Regions from separate parts of the Homo sapiens genome. Here all the other regions are linked to region 1. Evidence: promoter capture Hi-C in 16 types of primary human blood cells and fetal thymus (Javierre and others, 2016). All regions are on one chromosome and are shown on one strand. Each heading gives the region's core, a stretch centred on a gene start or on the middle of the fragment in contact. The rest is flanking DNA. Distances are from core to core; before and after follow the strand shown. Region 1 holds the start of CTU1 (cytosolic thiouridylase subunit 1). Region 2 overlaps CEACAM20 (CEA cell adhesion molecule 20). Region 3 holds the start of ZNF444 (zinc finger protein 444). Region 4 holds the start of ZNF787 (zinc finger protein 787).

Region 1 (5,053 bases), core at 1,910-4,409:
AAAGAGACTCAGAAGTAGGTAGAGCCCAGGTTAGACCTTTATTTGTCAATAAAGAGGCCACTGGTGTTGATCGGGAGACTGTGTTAGGGGAGACAGGAAAGAAACCAGACAGCAGAGGGCTGGGAGTGAGAGGGCTTCTCATGGCTGACCTCACCTCTTTTCCCATCTATCTCTGGAGCCCCAAATATCCCACTCTTATCCTGGTCCCACAGAGGAGAATGGGGAAACTCTATACACCCCGATTCAGCATGCACTCCCACATTGTTGCAGGACAGAGGCTGCCTCTGAGGAGGAGAACTAGACAGTGGGTGGGTGGGGGGAGACGACAGGGAGACTTCACTGTAGAGTCTATGCACTGTTTCCATTTTATAGCATTTAAGTGCATAACCTGATTAGATAACATAAATTGCATTCAAACAAAAGGCACCCTGTGCTTTCTTGCCACAAGATCTTTCTTTGCTCAGGCGATTTCTTCTGTATTAAAAGGCCATTTCGACCCTCAAATTCTCAACCTCCTTTGCCACACTTCACACCTCTTCCAGGAGCAAGCACAGCTTGGAGACTAAGGAGACAGGCTTTGAGCAAGGAGCTACAAACCAGAGACCACCAGCCAAATCGGGCCTGCTGCCTGTTTTTACATGGCCCACAAGCTACAAATGATTTTACATCTTTAAATGGTGTAAAATCTTCAAAATTCTTCAAAAGAAGAATATTTCCTGACACATGCAAATTACATGAAATTCAAATGTCAGTGTCCATCAATAAAGTTTTATTGGTATACAGCCACCCTCACTTGCTTATCTTATATCAATGGCTGCTTTCAACATACAACAGCAGAGTTGCCACAAAGACCCTGTGGCCCACAAAGCCTAAAATATTGGCTACCTGGCCCTTTACAGGAAAGGTTTGCAACCCCTGCTGTAGAGTCAGGCAGTCCAGGGAAGTGACATCACTGAGCTTCAAGATCCTCACCTAAGTAGAATTACAAGGCTGGGCATGCTGACTCACACCTGTAATCCCAGCACTTTGGGATCACTTGAGGTCAGGAGTTTGAGACCAGCCTGGCCACTATGGTGAAACACCGTCTCTACTGAAAATACTAACATTAGCCAGGTGTGGTAGCGCACCTGTAATTCCAGCTACCCAGCAGGCTGAAGCAGGAGAATCACTTGAATCCAGAAGGTGGAGGTTGCAGTGAGCCGAGATCGCGCCACTGCACTCCAGCCTGGGTGACATAGTGAGACTCCATCTCAAAAAAAAAAAAAAAAAAAGAAGAAGAAGAATTACAGTTGTACCCAACTCATATGTAACATATAATCTTAATGTTATGAGAATTGAGATGAGAATAATAACCACTTGTTGAGCACATACTATGTGCCAGAAGCTGTTCTAAATTCTTTAGAGGTGTTGTTAATTCAATTTGACTTCGCATAAATCCTATGAGGCAGGCTATTATTGCCCCCCTTTCACAGATGAACAAACTGAGATGATGCATGGCACATAGCAGCCTTTGTTGAATTTTTTTTTTTTCTGACACCCTGGCTGGCAGTGATTGAAATTGAGCTTTCAAGGCTCTTAACACTTCCATGTCAAGCTTTATCACTCCATATTGACTAAGTCCCTGTCTCCCCCACCAGGAGGACAGGGTGGTGGTGTAAGGGGTGGGGGATGCTCAGAGGACAGTAACCAAGTCTGATTCATTTGTGTCACCTAAACCTAGCCCAGGGGCAGCCTGGCACAAGGAGACCTCAGGAAATAAATTCAACAAATGAACCAACGCACACAGATGAACAGAACTGGCCCATGATAAGGCTTAAGAGTGACCTCACGGAGCTCATTTAATATGAAAGGAAGGCATCATGGTTTCCTGTTATGGGGGAAAAAAATGGGCTACAGGGTGCATGGGGTTCCTTCTCACGTCATCACCGGCCGTAGACCTACACATCCTGGGGCTCTCTGCACATCTCCACATCTCAGTCTAAGGCTCTGGTGGTCCCTTAATCTAGAGGATTTTTTTTTTTTTTTTGAGACAGAGTCTCACTCTGTGGCCAGGCTGGAGTGCAGTGGCGCGATCTCGGCTCACTGCAACCTCTGCCTTCTGGGTTCAAGCCATTCTCCTGCCTCAGCCTCCCGAGTAGCTGGGACTACAGGCGCGCACCACTACGCCCAGCTAATTTTTGTATTTTTAGTAGAGATGAGGTTTCACCATGTTGGCCAGGATGGTCTCCATCTTTTGACCTCGTGATCCACCCGCCTCGGCCTCCCAAAGTGCTGGGATTACAGGTGTAAGCCACCGCGCCGTCTAGAGGAATTTTGAGCCTCAGTTTTTTCGAGGACCTAGGTTTGGGGACCTGGATCTCAAGGGTCTCAGATATCTGAGTCCTTAAACTCCTTGTGCCCCGGTATTTGAGTCACCGGGGTCTTCAAGACCCTTGGGCCTTGTGGGGAGGGTGGAGGCCTCCAGATCCCTGTGTCTAGGGTGCAGACGGTTGTCTCCAGGTCTACTGGTTCTCTCAGGTGCTTTGGTGCCAGGGGTCTGCGTTTTTAACCCCCTTAGTCTCAAGGGTCTGAGTCTCTGAGCCTCTGGGCTCCTGGGTTAGGTGAGAAGGGTCTTTGGATCCTTCTGTTTAGAGTCTGGGTCTCCAGCACGCGCATCACGACAGCCCCCGCGTGCGCGCGGAGTTCCACTCCAATCCTCGAAGTCTGCTCTACGCATGCGCTATCTGCGCCTTTTACACTAGCGACCAACCCCTGCAGTTCCACCTTCAATTCCCACCCGCAACCCCGCCTCAAAGGGCAGAAATCATAGGCCCTGTAATCCCCTTAAAATCCTATAATAATCCCACAAAATCAGTTAATCAGAATACAACTACTTCGCCCATCCAGCAACCTGCCGGGTGACAGCGCGCTGCCATGACAACAGTACACGCAGCTCCGCCGCTCCCTGCGGCCGCGCGCAGGCGCAGAAAGTAAACGCGGGGGGAGGGGGAGCAGTGTATTTTGGGAGCGGCAGAAAGAGCAATGCAAGTGTTTCTGGGAGTTGTAGGCCAAGCGGGACCCCGGAGCCGTAGGCGCATCCAGCGGAAGTGTCGCATGGGCTTCTGGGAGTTCTAGGCAAGAAAGCCCCAAGACCTTATGGGAGTGGTAGTCTCGGAGTCACTTCCGGGCCAGGCTTCCGCGTGGTGGGCAGTGTGGGCATCCCAGCACTGAGTTCTGCCCGGGTGAGTATTTCCTCCTGCGGTGGGTCGGCATGTGGACTCCGGCTCTTTGTTGCGGTGCCGTGGGAGGGTTGAGGGTCTCTTCGAGCGTAAGGCCTCTGTGATTTCCCAGCGCCCGTGTCCCTGAGGCCTTGTAGCCAGGATTCCCACTTTGAACGCTGCGGTCCGGCCTGTCTCTTACCGGGCCACTCCCTTCCCCAAGACAGGATAAGACCATCTGCTTGCCCCCGCCCCTATGTTACTATCTGCCTGTCCCCGCCCCCATGCCACACATTATCTGTCCTTTTGACAAGGCTGCAATCCAGAGGCATCCCTGGGGTCCGCGGCCTCTCTTCTGGGAGCACTTATTATTCCCTCATCCTACAGATACTTACTGAGCACCGACTCTGCGCAGGGCGGCGGGAGCGAGGGCACCAGACCAACCCTGTCCCTGCCTTGAAGCAGAGAGACAGACCTGTCACCAGTGACAGCTAGTCAGGATCAGGGCAGCTCTGAGGGCCCTGGTGGAGGCGCTCGACTCAGTGACGAGGGTCCATAAAGTCTTTGAGGGAAGACGCTTAACATGCATGTCAAACCTGACGTGGCCAAATGGAATTCCTGGTCTTCTCACCTCACAAAATGGCCCCACCGTCCCTCCAATGCTCAGGCCAGAACCTCAAAGTTACCCTTCATCACTTTCTCTCGTCGTTGCCCCAGTCCCCACTCCAATCAGTCTTATACAAGTCCTGTGGGCTCCACCTTCAAAATAGATCCAAAATTTCACTTCTTCCCACCTCTACTGCCAGCACTCCTGTCTAGTGTGCTGACCTCCAGCCTTCTGTCCTTGTCCCTGACAACCAACAGTCCTCCCCACACAGCAGCCAAACGAATCCCACTTTTTTTATTTGAGACAAGGTCTCACTCTATCACCCACGCTGGAGTGCACTGGTGCGATCATGGCTCACTGCAGCCTTGACCTCCTGGGCTCAAGTGATCCTCCTGCCTTGGCTTCCTGAGTAGCTGGTACTACAGGCCTGTGCCACCAGGTGCAGCTAATTTATTTATTTATTTTTTTAGAGATGGGGTCTCGCTATGTTGACCAGTCTAGGAATCCTTTTAAAACATGCCAGATCATACCACTTTACTGTTCAAAAACCTCCCAAGGCTCCCATCTCCTCCTGAATAAACCTAAAATTCCACATCATGGCCTATGAGGCTCTGCTAACTTGTGCAGCCTTGTCCCCTGCGAGCGTCTCCCTTCCTCAGGACGTGGACCCCCCAGGACTGGGTGACTGTAGATTTAGGGGGTGAGGAGAGATGAGTCCAGGGTGACGTTACGTCCTGTCCTGCAGATGGGCTGGATGAAAGGTGGTGGCTGCTCTCAGAAGAGAGGGAACAGATGGGCAAGAACAGGTTTCTGCCTTTCGAGGAAGAAATAGGTTGTCTGGGCGCTTAGGGTCTGAACATCTTTAAGGTGCCCCAGCCATGTGGAGGACCAGCCAGGAGGGACATCTGAATATCATGATTCAGAGGCGCTCATAAGAATGGAAAGAAGCTGGGCACAGTGGCTTACGCCTGTAATCCCAGCACTTTGGGAGGCCGAGGCGGGCGGATCACTTGAGGTCAGGAGTTCAAGACCAGCCTGGCCAACATGGTGAAACCGCATCTCTACTAAAAATACAAAAAAAAAAAAAAAAATTAGCCAGGCATGGTGGTACACGCCTGTAGTCCCAGTTACTCGGGTGGCTAAGGCAGGAGAAACGCTTGACCCTGGGAGGCAGAGGTTACAGTGAGCCGAGATTGTGCCACTGCATTCCACCTGGGTAACAGAGCCAGACTCCATCTCAAAAAATTAA
Region 2 (5,053 bases), core at 695-3,194, 6.6 Mb after region 1:
CCAAGACAGAAGTCATAATCTTATGTAACAGAATCACATACATGCAATCATGTATATCCTGCCACCTTTGCCATATTCTATTGGTTAGATGCAAGTCACAGGTCTTGCCCTCAAGGGGAGGAGATTACATAAAGGAATGAATACCAGGAGGCAGGGATTATGGGGACCACTTTAGAGTCTGTTTACCACAGTGGGGAAGTACATGGGCCATTCCAGGAACAGAGATGTGCCAGGGTTACTAAAGTGTGATGAGAATGGAGGAAGATTTTTGGAATTTCCAAAGAAAGGAAAGCTCCAGGCTGTTTGGGCCCCAGACTACAGTGAGTAGACTGGGAGGGTCCACCTAGCAAATGGAGCTCACATTTTCTCTTTGTTTAACAGGAGCTTGTGAATCCAGAGCCCAACACTTACATCCAAATCAACCCCTCCGTCTAATGGAAGCAGAGATCTTTTCTCCAGGAGTCCTAGAGAAACCATGCTTGATCATATATTTAATGACATTTATTAAGTGCATATTATAAGCCAGTCATTCTCTGTCATCTCTGTAGACCTTGTGATGTTCTACTGCAATGGGTTGGTCAGGCCCTGGCTTCCATAGAATCTTAGATTTTGACTCATATTTTTTTTCAAAGCAATAGTAAGGGTAAAAATGACAGCCCGTGGATCTAGAGTTAGAGGACCAAGGTTTGAGACTGAACAGCTTAGGATATCATAGTTGCAGGCTGAGGATGAGCAAACACTGTTGGTGGACTCCAGAGAGAAGAGTGAGTCTGAGTCAGCCAGAGAGGAGTAGGGGACAAAGACAGGTGTCAGAGAAGAAGTGGCTTTTCAAATCATGATAGAAGATAAGGAACAAGGAGCTCTTAAGAAATTAAGAGCTCTTAATAAAAGGAGAAAACACGTAGTGAAGTGAGGGATTGAGGCTCCTGAGGAGAGGTAGGCATGAAATGCTTAGAATCCTGAGAACTGCAGGGGCGGAGAGAGTCAGAATGAGATTTGCTGAAGGTAAAGAGAGTTAGGAGACAAGGATATCTCCATGGTTTCTTGCCAGGGCAACTGGATGATTGGCAGGTCACTTTCTGAGAAACTTTGGGATAAGGAGAGAAATAAAGAATTTGCTTCATGTCAAGAATTTAGACATGTCAAGAATCAGTTGCAGAATCAAGTAGGCAATTGTTCATAAAAATCTAGACAGATCATGGCTGGAGATACACATTTGAGAGTTGTCAGTGGGACTTAAAGTTATGGGGCTGGATGAGCTCCTCTGTCAGGGGGGTCCCCAAGACCACCTCATGCTCAAAGATTTTCTAGAGGAATTCATAGGACCCAATTGTTATACTCATGGTTATAGTTTATTACAGCAAAAGGATGGAGAATAAAATTAGCAAAGGGAAAAGGTGCATGGGGTGAAGTCTGGAGGATACCCTGCACCAGCTTCCAAGTGTTCTCTTTCAGTGGAGTCACATGGTGTATTAGTCTGCTTTCTTTGGCCTATAACAGAATATCTAAATCTGGGTAATTTGTTTTAAAAAGGAAATTTATTTCTTACAGTTATGGAGGCTTAGAAGTCTAAGGTCTAGGGGTTGCATCTGGTGAGAGCACTTCTTGCTGGTGGGGACTCTCTGTGGAGTCCTGAAGTGGTGCAGGGAATCACATGCCAAGGGGACTGAGTGTGGTAACATGTTAGCTCATGTTTCTCTTTCTTTTCTTATGAAGCTACCAGTTCCACTCCCATGATAACCCGTTAATCCATTAGTCCATGAATGGATTAATCCATTCATGAAGGCAAAACCCTCATGAGCCAATCACCTCTTAAAAACCCCCACCTCTCAATATTGCCACACTGGGGATTAAGTTTCAACATGAGTTTTGGAGGAGACAAATATCCAAACCACAGCACATGGGAAATCCCCCAGCAATGATGTGTGACAACGTGTGTGAAGCATTGCCATCGAGGGAAGCTCACCTAAACCTGGGTGTCCATGGTTTTTATAAAGGGTCAGTCACTGAAGCTCCAGACTCCTAGAAGGAAAGCAGATGTTCCTCCATAAATTACACTGTTAGTATAAACCATCTGGACAAAGTGGTACAGCATGGCTCAAGGCCTCAGGCAAACAAAAGCACTCTTACCAGATAGAACATTATGAGAGCTCAGTTCCCAGAGCTGCCCAAAGGCTAGTCAGGAAAACAGGACCTTCTGGGGAACTTACAGAGTTTGAGCAATAGGCCTGTTATGTCAACCCCAAGCAGAGTGGATGAAGACAAGGCAAGGGACAGGCTGACAGCTGATTCCTGGGTTCCTCTGATGTTTACAGGAGAGATCAAGCAAAGGAGACAAAAAAGGACTGTTAACACAGGGGGAAACCAACACTGAAAACTCCTGGAAATGAAGAGTTTTCAGAATGCGTTGTTGCTATCCTTGGAGCTGAATGGCTATCATAATGATGATAACATTAATTCAGATTTTAAAAATTAATCATTAGATGTGATACAAGAGACCGGAATTAGGATCTTAAGGGTTGCACTCAGTAGTACCAGAAACACCACCCTATTTGAACCCTGAGAACTTTCCTCTTCCCTGCCAAGAAATGTCCCCCTCCCCCTGACATCCTAGAGACAGATCATGCCCTTTTACCCTCTCGTTACTCTTACTTTGTTTTCTAGTATTTATAGTAAATGGATTCATAATCTTCTTGCTCTTCACTGTATCTTGAGCCCTTATCCAATTCATGGCCAATAAACAGAATCTTAATATAAACTTTGGTCTCAGCTCTTCCCGACAGTTGACAGATAAATCTCTAGATTAGATAGGCATCTTTCTAGAATGTTCCTGAGTGGTAACTCTTTAAAATTTTTATTTATTCATTTATTTATTTTGAGACAGGGTCTGGCTCTGTCGCTGAGGCTGGAGTGTAGTAGCATAATCTTGGTTCACTGCAACCTCTGCTTCCTGGGCTCAGGCAATCCTTCCTGCCTCAGCCTCCTGAGTAGCTGGGACTACAGCTTGTGCCACCAGGCCCAGCTAATTTTTGTATTTTTTGTAGAGACGGGGTTTCACCATGTTGCCCAGGCTGGTCTCAAACTCCTGGGCTCAAGTGATCCTCCTGCTCCGGCTTCCCAAAGTGTGGGGATTACAGGCGTGAGCCACTGCGCCCAGCAGTGGTAACTCTTCTAAAGTCCCTGTAATATTCAGGTTAAGTCAGGATTTATAGGTTCCTGGAAGTAAACATTACCACCTTGTTCATTGTGAAAGAAAATAAAAAAGACTAAACAAAAGACAGATAAACAAAGTCAGTTTTACATTACATAGTACTAACGCTTTATTTTCTGAAAATTGTTTTTTTTTTTTGAGATGGAGTCTTGCTCTGTTGCCCAGGATGGAGTGTAGCAACGTGATCTTGGCTCATTGCAGCCTCTGCCTCCCAGGTTCAAGCGATTCTTCTGCCTCAGACTCCTGAGTAGCTGGGATTACAGGCGTGCATCACCATGCCTGTCTAATTTTTGTATTTTTTAAGTAGACACAGAGTTTTGCCATGTTGGCCAGACTGGTCTTGAACTCTTGACCTCATGATTGGCCTGCCTTAGCCTCCCAAAGTACTAGGATTACAGGTGTGAGCCACTGCGCCTGGCCTATTTTCTGAATATCTTAAACAATTAGCAGAAAAATAAATGAAGTGAAAAAAGGAAGACGACCTAACACTCAAAGCATCCCATTCTGATTTTGTCATATTTGTATTTGCAGATCAATCTGCAAGATTTTACATCTTTACAACACACAGCTAGCAACACAGCATTTCTATTTGTCCATTTTTCTCTCTCAGTAAGGTTTTGAGGGTTTCTTCAGATGACATATTTATCTTACTAAATTTACTTATAAGGCTTTTTTTTTTTGCTTTTTTGTGAATACATACGAACTTTTTCTGTTTTGTTTGCAAACTTAGTATTGCTTGCACGTAGAGGAAAGATACTGATGTGTAGACAAGCGGCAACATAATGTAAAAGTTAAGAGCATGGACTCTAGAGTTCAACATCTTGGTCTCAAATGCACAACATAGGTGGAAATACAGATGAAACAAGACTGAGTGAAAATATTTAAGTTGGATGACATAGGTCTTGGGGAGTCATTAATTGAGTCCCTACTTTTGTTTTGAAATTTACAAAATAAAAGGTTAAAAAAATAAGCTACTTACTTCAATGTAGAAACCGATGTCACATTTAACCCTCAAACTTCAGAGATATGTCCATTAAAAGAACACAAACAAGAATGCCTCTTTTAGTAATACTTTTTTGGAAATGGTAGCCAATATAATCCAACATGAAAGAGAATGTCTAATTTAAAATACTGGTAAGGAAAAGATGAAATTGTAGATAACTGTCTCAATAGAAAAGCCAAGAGAGTCAACTGGAGTATTGTAAGAATTAATAACATTGCAGTAGGTTAACCAGATACAAAATAAGTATTTTTTAAAAGATCAACCACAATAACCAATAATAAGAAGCTTTGGGGATAGAGATTACATTTCAAATAGTAATAATTCATTGTTTTTAAAGGTCAGAATTTACGTGAAGAAAACTACAGGAGTGCTTTGACAAGCATTTTAAAAACTAAAAAATTATGTATTTTCATACAGCAGGGCTCCAATTTTCAGCTACCTCCCTGGTAGGATGAAAATTAACACAACTACCTCATAGGCTGATTGGGCTTGGTAATGAAATATTAAAGTGTTTAATACAGAGACAGGAACCTTTATTTAGCCAACGAATATTTATTGAGCATCTATTATGTGCCAGGTCTCTCTCTTTTTTTTTTTTTTAGGTGTTGGGGATGCAGCAGTGATCAACATCGATAAAATGCTTTTCCTTATGGAATTGACATCGTAGTGGTAGGTCGGACAGTAGACCAAATAAATAATTAAAATATATAGTGTGCTAGATAGTGAAAAGTTCTTTAGAGAAAAAAATAAAAGATGAAGGGGGAGGCACAGAGCATGTGGGGAGGGAAGCGTTTGCTTGCAAGTTCACAACGGGTGGTGGGGCAATGCCTCATGAGAAG
Region 3 (5,053 bases), core at 1,588-4,087, 5.0 Mb before region 1:
TTGCCCAGGCTGGTCTCAAACTGCTGGACTCAAGTGATCCTCCCACCTCAGCCTCTCAAAGTGCTGGGATTACAGGAGTGAGCCACTGTGCCCGGTCTGGCTCACTTTCTATCTTCTTGGACCGAAGGCCAGTGCCCACCACAGGGCCTCTGCACCTGTGCTGCCTCCCGCTGGATCACTCTTTCCCCCCAATCTTTGCTTACCTGACTCCTTCTCATGACTGAGGCCTCCATGCAATTATTACCCCCTTGGAGAGCCTCCCCAGATCACCCCCTCCGATGCTGCACCCACGTGCCCTTCCCCCAGTTGCTAAGACGTCACCCTTATTAGTTTTCTTTCAGCATTTAACAAGATCTAGTGTTACGATATCTGTGTGCTGACTTTCTTCACTACAATTCATGTGGGCGAGAGACTCCATATTCCAACCCCAGCATTCTGGCTAGCACTCAAATAAACTTTACAGGCTGATCAATCCCATGAGGTTGGTGTTACTACCCCCAAGTTGCAGCAGGAGCAAGGGGAGATGTCTTACCTAAAGTCACTCAGCTAACACGTGGCAGAGCCTGGACTTGCACATCCACAGCCAGGCCACAGCATCACCTCCCACCCCACCCATCCATCAGTTTAAGGGCTGATGAACCTGGGAGCAGGCAGAAAGACTTATCGGAAGACCCAGGCCAGATCCAAGTCTCAAAAGCCACACAGATGCCTGCTCTGCTATAAAAAAGATCCCTCTGGGACTAAGGAGGAATTTCCGCCAGAGAGCAATGCCACAGGCCATCAAGCTGACCCTGTTTGCAATCTCAGAGGTGATCACAGGTCACTACACCCTGGGCTGTCCAGAAAGTGAGCTCTCTGGGGCAGTGACCAAGTCCAGCTCTTCACTGGGTCGGTGGGGCCATCCAGCACAAGGCCTGCTCCCAAGAAAGCACATGCTGTTAAGTAAGGGCCTTCCACCATGTCAATCCACCCTACCATCCAATGAGCGCCCTGTGCTATGTGCATTCAACAGCTGTAACCCTGCTGTCTAGCTGTCTGTGTCCGCAAAGCACAGTCCAGTCCAGAGCCAGGCACCCTGGATGCCTTGAAGACAGCCACTGAGTGGCTAGTGTCTTATACTGCCCCACCCAACCTTCCCAACAGACCTGTGAGCTGGGGAGATGGGTCCCCTCTTACCATAGGGAGATGCTCAGAGAGTGAAGGAGCCACAAATGGGACCCAGATGTGACTCCAGAGTCCACACCAGTTCCACCTAGTACCCCGGCACCAGCACCCACATATGCTGGGTTAATATCATGGCTAAGAGGCTGTGGAGTCTGGCTGCCTGGCTTCAACTTCCAGCTCTGCCACTCATCAGCAGTGTGACTGTGGACGTGTGACTTACCCCCTCTGTGCTTCATTTCTCCACCTGAGACACAGGACTAACAAGAGCTCCTTCCTCTCAAGAGGCTGCTGGGAGCAGGAGTTAGAAGCAGCCTCCAAAGGCTAAGTGCTCGACAAAGACCGGTTTGTCTACTCTAGGTTCCCAACCTCGACATTAATGGCACTTGTGTCGTGGCGGGCTATCCTGTGCAACATACGATGTCTACCAGCATCTCTGCCTCTTTTCATGAGATGCCAGTAGCACTTCCCAAGTTGGAAAAACCAAAAAAAAAGTCTCCAGACATTGCCACATGTCCCCTGGGGGACAAAACCACTCCTGGTTGAGAGCCGCTGGCCCACTGGACAAATATTTACCTACGGCACAAAGGCTCTGGGGCAAATTCCAGCTCTGCCTCCTACCAGCTCTGTGTCCTTGGACGAGGTACAAGGCACCTTTTGTAATACCCTGTATCTCCATTTCGTTGACTGTAAAGTGATAGAAGGAGAACAAAAATGCTGAGAACCACACCTGGCTAGTAAGTGTCCAGTCAGACTTAGGGTTACTTTGTCGAAGTTTCCCTGCGAGGTGCCCAGGGGACACTGCTATGAACACGCACGCAGATTAAAATACTAAGTATACATTGGAATAGGCGTTAAAATCGGATATAGAGGAGGGTGACTCCATCCTGACTGGGGTAGAGGTGGCGGGGGTCAACTTCATTTGACAATAAACAGAGTTTCTAAGCACTTTACACATATTACCGAAGGTAATAATGCCTTGCAACAAGCTAAAAAGGCAGATGCTCCGCACTGAGAAAGCAGCAAAACAGAGCAACGATTCTTATCTTCAGGAATCTCACAACTCTGTAAAAGTTGCACTTGTAGAAGCAGCGCGCAAAACGAGCCACCTGCGCCGTATCTACGTTACAACAATAACCATCGTCCCCGGAAGCCCCTTCCCGCAAACCTTTCCGAAGGGGTCCGGTCCCGGCGCCCCCAGACTCCTTTGTAGGGTCCAGCTTCCCACTCAGCTTTCATCTCACAGCCCACCCTCTGCTAGGGTCCCCTTCCCCTCCCCCACCTGTCCCTCCCCCGTCCCGCCCCTCCCCCTCCCCCAGGCGCCCCTCCCCCGTCCTCTCCCTCAGCATTTCTCTCCCGCGTTCAGGACCTCGAGGATCCACGACCCCCTCCCACTATCCACCCCTCCCCCTCTCCAAGTCCCTCCCCCTCTAGTTCCCTCTCCCAGCCCCTTCCCCATCACTCAGCCCCCTTCTCCTCCCCTCCCCGCAAGTCTCCCATCTTTCCCTCCTGAGGCCCCCGGCGCCCCTCTTCCCATCCAACCTCTGGTCCCTCCCTCGTCCAACCGCCCCCACCCAATCCCTCCCTCCTTCCCCCCTCGCTCACCTCACTCTCTCAGGCGAGGCCCCCCAAGCCCCCTCACCTCCCCGCACATGCGCACAAAGCTCGCCGGGACTCCATGCCCCAGCAGGCTTTGCGCCAAACTCCCCCGTCCCCCTCCCCCAATCCCATACTCCGAGCCGCTCGTTCAGCCCAACAACTCCCCATGAAGCCCCGGCCTCACCCCGAACTACAACTCCCAGGAAGCATCGCGGCAAAGGCGGCTGCCAATTGGCCCTCGCCTGGGGACCGCCTTACTCCTGTTTGTCACCGCGTGGCGTCTTCGCCAACACTGGAACTACATTTCCCAAGATACGCGAAAGCGTCGTCTGCAGCCTATTTGGCCTTGACGGCGCAAATGTCGCGGGCTGTCTGAGCGCGACAGGCTTTGGACTACATTTCCCAGAATGCACGAGGAGGCTTCCCAGTGGTCTGCGCGCGGGCCCTGGACATGCGCAGAAGTGCCGGGAAAAAAAGAGGGAGGAGGAGGAGGAGCCATGGCGGCGTTGTTGTGGAGATCAGGGGAGGCCGGGCACCGCCGGGCATTTGGGAGGTGGGGCCTCCGGAGCTCTAGAAGCTGGCAAGCGAAGAGGAGGAGGAGGAGGAGACCAGGCTAGAGTTCTGCGCCAATCAGGAGTGCAGGCTACGTCTCCTTGACTACGGATCGCATTTTTTTTTGTCCTCCCTCTCCACCCGGGCAGAACTTAAGGGCCGATGTCGGTGCCAGGAATCAGGACGTGAGCAGGCTGCCCTCCTGTTCCGGGGTGGGCAGTGGCTCAGGAGGGGGCCAGCGCGGGGGCCTCGGTTTGGCTCTTCCTGTGTGTGAACCTGGACAGGACACCGCCCTCTCTTTAGCCTCAGTTTCCCCTGGGGTGAATTGGGGGACAGCGCTACCTGCCACGCGTCCTCGCTGTGCCCCTATTGGACAGACTACTGCCCCGTCCTGAGGCCTCAGTTTCTGCATCTCAGAACTGTGAAGAAGCATATTTGGATTTTAGAGCAGACAGACATCCTAAGAGATCAGCTGAAGTTTTTATCTAGACAGTTCCAGACCTGATTATGGCTCATACAAGCCCTACCCCAGCCCGCAGCGTATTTCCTCCTCCGTACAACAAGGATAAGAGAATCCCCCTCCCATCCTCCACCTCCCCGGCTGATCTGAAGACTCCGCGCCATAAAAACGAAGACAGTGGCTTACCCATAACAAGCATTCATTACATGGAAGTTGTTCGTCTTATATTCATAAATGAACAACTTTCCCCAGGTTTCACAAGCGATGAGTGGCTGACTCAGAACTTTGTGACCAGTTTGCCCACGGTGGCCTAATCTGCCCTGGCCCACCTGTCTACCACTGTCTTCTCCTCGTGTTTAATGAGTTCCAGTCATGCCTCCTTTCTGCTCCTAGAGCACGCTGATCTTCTTCCCACTCATATCCGATGGCCTACTTGACATCTCCTCTTGGATTTCTTAATAGGCATCTCAAACCTAAGGTGGGCAGTAGATAATTTTTCACTCTCTCCCCCACCTTGCGAAGAAATTTGTTCCTTCCCATTACTCCACCATCTTAGAAAGCAAGTCCATCTTCACCCAAATGTTGAGGCCAAAAATAGAAAAGCAGCCCTTGATTCTTTTTTCTTTTTTTTTTTTTGGTTTTTTGTTTTGTTTTGTTTTGTTTTTTGATACAGGGTCTGGCTGTGTTGCCCAGGCTGGAGTGCAGTGGTGCGATCACAGCTCACTGCAACCTCCGACTCCCAGTCTCAAGTGATTCTCATGCTGCATCCTCCTGAGTAGCCAGGACTACAGGCGTGCACCACCATGCCCAGCTAATTTTTGTATTTTTAATAGAGATGGGGTTTGCCATGTTGGCCAGGCTGGTCTCGAACTCCTGGCCTCAAGTGATCTGCCTCCTCGGCCTCCCAAAATGCTGTGATTGCAAGCGTGAACCACCATGCCCAGCCAATTCCTCTTTTTCATCACCATCCACATGCAATCTATCATCAGGTCCTATTGGCTCTGTCTTCAAAATAGATGCAGAATCTGTCCACAGCTCTCCCGTCTATGGCTACCACCTGGTTTAAGTCCCCATGGCCTCTTTAGACACTGTCATGCTTCCACTCTCGCCTCTTCTGCCTCCTGCCCCTCAGTTCCTGCTCCACACAGCGCCAAAGGGATCTTTTTTTTTTAATTGTGGTAAAATATATACAAGATAAAAATTACCATCTTAATCATTTTTAAGGTACAGTTCAGTAGCATTAAGTACATTCAAGCTAGGCCGGGTGTGGTGGCTCACGCC
Region 4 (5,053 bases), core at 1,451-3,950, 5.0 Mb before region 1:
AGAGCAGGAAGCAGGCAGATGTTTCTTTTTTTTTTTTGAGATGGAGTCTCACTCTTTTGCCCATACTGAAGTGCAGTGGTGGGATCTCGGCTCACTGCAACCTTTGCCTCCTAGGTTCAAGCAATTCTCCTGCCTCAGCCTCCGGAGTAGCTGGGATTATAAGCGCCCACCACGCCTGGCTAATTTTTGTACTTTTAGTAGAGATGGAGTTTCGCCATGTTGGCCAGGCTGGTCTCGAACTCCTGGACTCAGCTGATCCTCCCGTCTCGGCCTCCCAAAGTGCTGTGATTATAGGCGTGAGCCACCGTGCCTGGCCAACATACATGTTTCTTAAGAGCATTGGCTCGGAAGAGGCCTGTATCGCTTCCATCCCATCCCATTGGTGAGAACCAATCACAAGGCCACACTTAGATGCCAAGAGGAGTGGAAAACAGAATCCATCGATGGGAAGCAGCATCCCAAGAGTGATTTTGTACTGCGGAAGGGAAGAACAGATGTTAATTGTCAATTAAGCCATGTCGGCTGCAACCCATCCCATGTTTGGGAAACATCCTGGTATTGGTTGGGTTGCCTTAAGGGAGAGACTCAGAATTACCAATGGTTTCAGTGAGTTAGAAAGTGATTTCTCTCACATAAAATCTCAGCTGGCACGGAGCCTCTTTCACGAAGCCATCCAGTGTCTAGCTGGCTCCCTGTGTCTTGTTTCTCCTCCATCCTCAGTGTTGGCTTCCATCTGGTGTGCCAATGAGCTGTTCTCGATCTTGCCGTTGTCAATTTGACCAGCGAAGAAGGGGAATGGGCTGGAGAGGGAGGAGGCTGTCCCTCCCAACAACCAGGTCACTGCAGGACACCCACTGAATGATCTGATTCAGAGGAGCACAAGCACATGACTTTTCTTATAAACAGGTTTCCTCGTGTAGAGTTTGTACCCTAATAATTTGTTTCTATTGCTGTTATGATAGCACTTCACTCTCTTTTTTTTTTTTTTTTTTTTGAGACGGAGTCCCATTCCATCGCCCAGGCAAGAGTGCAGTGGTGCGATCTCAGCTCACTGCAACCTCTGCCTCCCAGGTTCAAGCCATTCTCCTGCCTCAGCCTCCCGAGTAGCTGGGATTACAGGTGTCCGCCACCACGCCCAGCTAATTTTTGTATTTTTAATAGATATGGGGTTTCACTATGTTGGCCAGGGTAGTCTCGAATTCCTGACCTCCTGACGTCTGCCTCTGCCTCCCAAAGTGTTGAGATTTACAGGTGTCAGCCACTGCACCCGGCCACACTTCCTTCTGTTCTAAGATATATTTAAAAATTTACCTTTGTGATATTTCTGAAGGAGGGACACAGATATCCTCCTATTGACACACACAGTTAACACAGCACTGTTCACCCCACCCCATGGAAAGATGTTATTAAATCAATAATATACATCTTATGATTGATGCTCACTGAGCTTTGAGGGTATACAGTGGCCACAACAATAGACTTATATGTAACACTGCTAATAGGTAATAATAACCACCATCATTTTTGTGAACTTACTATGGGCCAGGTATTGAACTAAGCAGCTCTTACACATATTACCTTGCAGGTTATCTTATTTTTTCCCATTCCACAGATGAGAAATTGAGGCTGAGAAAGGTGTTATTCCACCAGTGAATTATAGCTTCTTATCTTTTCTGACTACCAGTGAGGATGATAACAATTATAAGCGATAAGTCATCTGCCACTTAGGTGAGAGTCAGCCAAGTACAGAACAGAGGAAGGACCAGAAGGACCAGCCTACAAGGACACTATGGTTTGGACAATTATTTTAAAATATGTGTTTTTTGCAAGAATACCAACAGTAACAGCTAACACCCAGTGCGTCCTTACTAGGTGCCTACCTAACGCGGGGGAAGTAGTGGATTCTCAGGGCTATGACACGAGGCAGTGTGTACAGTCAAGGGTTAAATACACGAATTTAGAGCCAAACTCCATGGGTTCGGGCCGAGGCTCTGGCATTCCGGGTGTGTGACTTTTGGTAGGTGATTTGACTCCTCACCTGCAACATAGGGATAGGACCTACCATGAGGCCCTAGTTAGGACTAGGACCTAGTGCGTGTGAAGCACTTGGAGGCGCACAATGTATTTTCATCACTTCAGAAAGGAGGAAACTGAGGCCATGGCACCTGAAGCGCAGCACTCTCTGTCCAGTAACTAAGGAACCCGGGGTCTCTGTCCAGTAACTAAGGCACCTGGACTCGGGCCACTGGGAGGTGCAGCGGCAGAGAAGGGGTTACCATGATAGAGACGGTAGGAGGACCCGGGGTGGCACGAGCGTCCCTCTCCACCACTTCACTCTCCTCACGGCGGGCCCGGGGACCCGGCCGCGCAGGCGCGAGGAGCCCGGGTTGTCGGGGGGGCACCGCCCTAGACACCCGGAAGTCTCCGCCTAACGGGCCCAGCCCGCACCTCCTGTCCGGGAAGGGGGCGGGGCCGAAGCCCCTCGGCGCGGGGCGCCATAGAGCATGGACGGAGGACCTGCGTCCTAGACACTTCCGGAAGTGGCTCCCTCAGGCGCCCGCCGGGCACCACAGAGCTGGGGGCGGTGGCCGGGATAGCGGGCTCGCCTTCCTAGAGCGGCGAGGACAGGGTGGCGGCCCGGGGGGCAGGGAGTAGGGAGAAGGGGGGGAGCGGCGCGGGCGGAAGCGGCCGGGAAGGTCACTTCCGGCCTGGGCGCCCGTCCCCCTGACCCCAGGGTCTGAGTCGCCGCTGCCGCCGCTGCCACCATCCGCGAGGCAGGAGAGAGGAGGAGGAGTGCGGCGCGGCGGCCCCGGGACCAAGGAGGTGAGGGGTGGGGGCGGGGGCCGTGCGCTGGGGGCCAGGTGGGCGCGCGCTTCGGGAAGCTGGGCTTGGGCTGGGGGTGGGTGGGGAGACTGGAGGGCGAGCGCGACTGGGCGGCGGGCGCGCGTGCGCGCTGCTGGGGGGGCGTGAGTGGGCGCGCGGCCGGGGTGACGCGGGCGGGGGGAGTGCGCGTGCGCGCCGAAGAGCTGTGGGAGGGGACGCGCGCCCGGGCGGCCCGCGGGCGGCGAGCGGGGCTGGAGGGGGGGTGCGCGTGCGCGGGTCCGGGTCCAGGGCGCGCGCGTGCGCGTGGCGGGGGCAGGAGCGGGGGCCTCGGTGGGGGTCCCTCTGCTGCGGGCCGTCGGGGGTGGGGCCGCTGTCCGTCCCCCCGAAGTTCCAACTCCGCCGGTCGTGGCCGGAAGTGGTGGCGACTTCGGGGGGAAGTTGAGGCCCAGGTGGGGGAAGGGGCCGCGCGGTTGGGCTGGCCTGGCCGGATACCGCGGCCCCGAGGGCACGGTCTCAGCCCTCGGCCCCCCCAGCCCTTCCTTCCCCTTTTCGAGTCAGCCCGGGTCCCGTTGCTGCCCCGGGCGGGCTGCGCGTGGCCTTTGATCAGGCGGGTAATTACGGGGATTCTGGCCGGCAGGAGGCCCATTCATTCGTCCTTGCTCGGCAGGCGGGGAGGAAGCGCGTCCCCAGCGGGGGAAGTGACTGGGCCAAGGTCAGCCACCGCGTGGCCCACGGGGCAGGGCGAAGGCGGGGACTGGATCGGGTGGCGACTCCTGAGGCCTCCCTCCCCTGTGCCGAGTGGATCAGAGTGGAGCCCCGCCCTCCTGACACCCCACCCCGACCCCCAGTCCAGGGAGCTGACCCCAATTCATGTGGATGAGTGCTCTGGGACCTGCAGAGTCGCACAGAAAAGTGACCCACAGACACAGAAGGCAGGAGTGAGTGGAGGCAGAAGTTTTTCCAGTGCCAGGCCCTGTGCCGGGCACTAGAGACAGGGAGCAGGGAGATGAACAAGGGCTTGGAGTCTGGGTGGAAGGCAGAGACTGAGACCCGGGCGACAGAGTCGCCATCCAAGGTGACCAGACCCCTGATGGAGAGGTCTGGGGGCTGTGGGAGCCAGGGAAGGCATTTTGACCCAGCCCAGTCCGGGGGATGGTCAGGGCTTTAGGGAAGGAATGGCTTGGTCTGCTCTTTGCGGTGTCCTGCTCCCAGGTCCCATGTTGCGCAGTGCTTAGAACCCATCTGGGGATCCGATTGACCCCAGCGCCGGGAAGCACAGTTGCGTTGATCCTGGCTTAGCTCCTCTGAAGACCGTAAGCCTCTTTGGCTAAACGCTGCTGACATTCACCTGCCTGCCTCTGCGCAGTCCCTGTGGTCCTCCGGCCACGCACGGCCTCAGAGAACATCCAGATCAGATTCCTGCTTGCTTATCTCATGTCTTATCCATCCATCCGGGCACCCGGCCTGGCCCCTCCCTGGTGCACTGCCAGAGTGTGTGCAGGCACTGGGTTGTATTCCCCAAGAGCTCTGGGACTGGGCAGGCCTGGGTTCAAGTCCCAGCCCCACCACTCACCTTCGTGGCCTTAGACGAGTAACTTCAGTGCCTTACTTTCCACCAGGACAGAGTGGGAGTGGTAATAATAGTATTGACCTCAGCGGGAAGGCTCTTAATGCTTTCATTTTAGAGCCAGAGCAGACCTCAACAGATGGGTGTAAAGTAAATGGAAAGGGCTCTGGAGCCAGGCCCTTTCCTGGGCCTTGGCCTTGGCACTGTCTCTTCCACTTCTGTGACCTTGGACATGTCACTTCCCTTTTCCCAGGTTCAATTTCCCTTCAGTTGTCTAAAAACGAGAGCAAGTTCACAATTCCCTGAGTAAATGTAATCCATCCAGGCGGCTGCACAGGCCAGGCCCTGTGCTGGGCATGAGGTCACACATGGTCTTGGCACAGCACTGTCCTGTGAGGGCCCAGATGAGGTGCCTGGCCCAGCCTGGGTGAAGAGAGGGATCTCAAGGCCCTTCTGTGCAAGCACAAGGTAGAGTGGTGCTCCGTGCTGGGCAGCCTGGCAGGAATCATACAGTCCCTGTCCCAGAGCAGCTGAGACCCATTCACACTGGGCAGAGGGGTGGGGAGATTTGCCAGAGTGCTCCCGGGAGCTCTGACCTTGAGGGAGGGGTGTGTGGTGCAGGGGAGGTATTGTGTCTTGAAAGATAGAGAGGAAGGATTGGCT

What was found. Contacts are between HindIII fragments. The CHiCAGO score rates a contact against its expected background, and 5 or more counts as called.
Region 2: a fragment that was not itself captured here is called in contact with the fragment with the promoter of CTU1 in region 1 in 3 of 17 cell types (total B cells, naive B cells and activated CD4 T cells); the score reaches 8.3 in total B cells.
Region 3: a contact is called between the fragment with the promoter of ZNF444 here and the fragment with the promoter of CTU1 in region 1, in 3 of 17 cell types (naive CD8 T cells, non-activated CD4 T cells and activated CD4 T cells). The highest score is 7.0, in naive CD8 T cells.
Region 4: a contact is called between the fragment with the promoter of ZNF787 here and the fragment with the promoter of CTU1 in region 1, in 4 of 17 cell types (activated CD4 T cells, non-activated CD4 T cells, total CD4 T cells and 1 more). The highest score is 11.1, in activated CD4 T cells.

What each region holds. Positions count from the first base shown.
Region 1 is chr19:51,106,515-51,111,567 of GRCh38, reverse strand. CTU1 (cytosolic thiouridylase subunit 1) reads left to right here and starts at 3,159. Exons shown (of 3, transcript NM_145232.4): 1 at 3,159-3,221. RefSeq lists an enhancer at 2,864-3,193. The HindIII fragment of the contact is 4,633 bases long and covers 1,597-5,053 here.
Region 2 is chr19:44,501,543-44,506,595 of GRCh38, reverse strand. CEACAM20 (CEA cell adhesion molecule 20) reads left to right here. Exons shown (of 12, transcript NM_001102597.3): 12 at 382-437. The coding sequence ends at 435. Among named protein-coding and RNA genes, the nearest start is that of ZNF180, 3.5 kb to the right of the region's middle. The HindIII fragment of the contact is 5,114 bases long and covers 1-4,501 here.
Region 3 is chr19:56,139,071-56,144,123 of GRCh38, reverse strand. It overlaps ZNF444 (zinc finger protein 444), which reads right to left and starts at 2,837. Exons shown (of 5, transcript NM_018337.4): 1 at 2,767-2,837. RefSeq lists enhancers at 2,875-3,014, 3,045-3,374. The HindIII fragment of the contact is 17,292 bases long and covers 1-5,053 here.
Region 4 is chr19:56,118,942-56,123,994 of GRCh38, reverse strand. ZNF787 (zinc finger protein 787) reads left to right here and starts at 2,700. Exons shown (of 3, transcript NM_001002836.4): 1 at 2,700-2,823. LOC124904772 (a long non-coding RNA gene) reads right to left here and starts at 2,385. Exons shown (of 2, transcript XR_007067348.1): 1 at 2,063-2,385; 2 at 1-475. RefSeq lists silencers at 2,204-2,573, 2,664-2,783, 2,794-2,873, 3,164-3,483, 3,564-3,613 and enhancers at 2,218-2,933, 3,361-3,655. The HindIII fragment of the contact is 11,888 bases long and covers 1-5,053 here.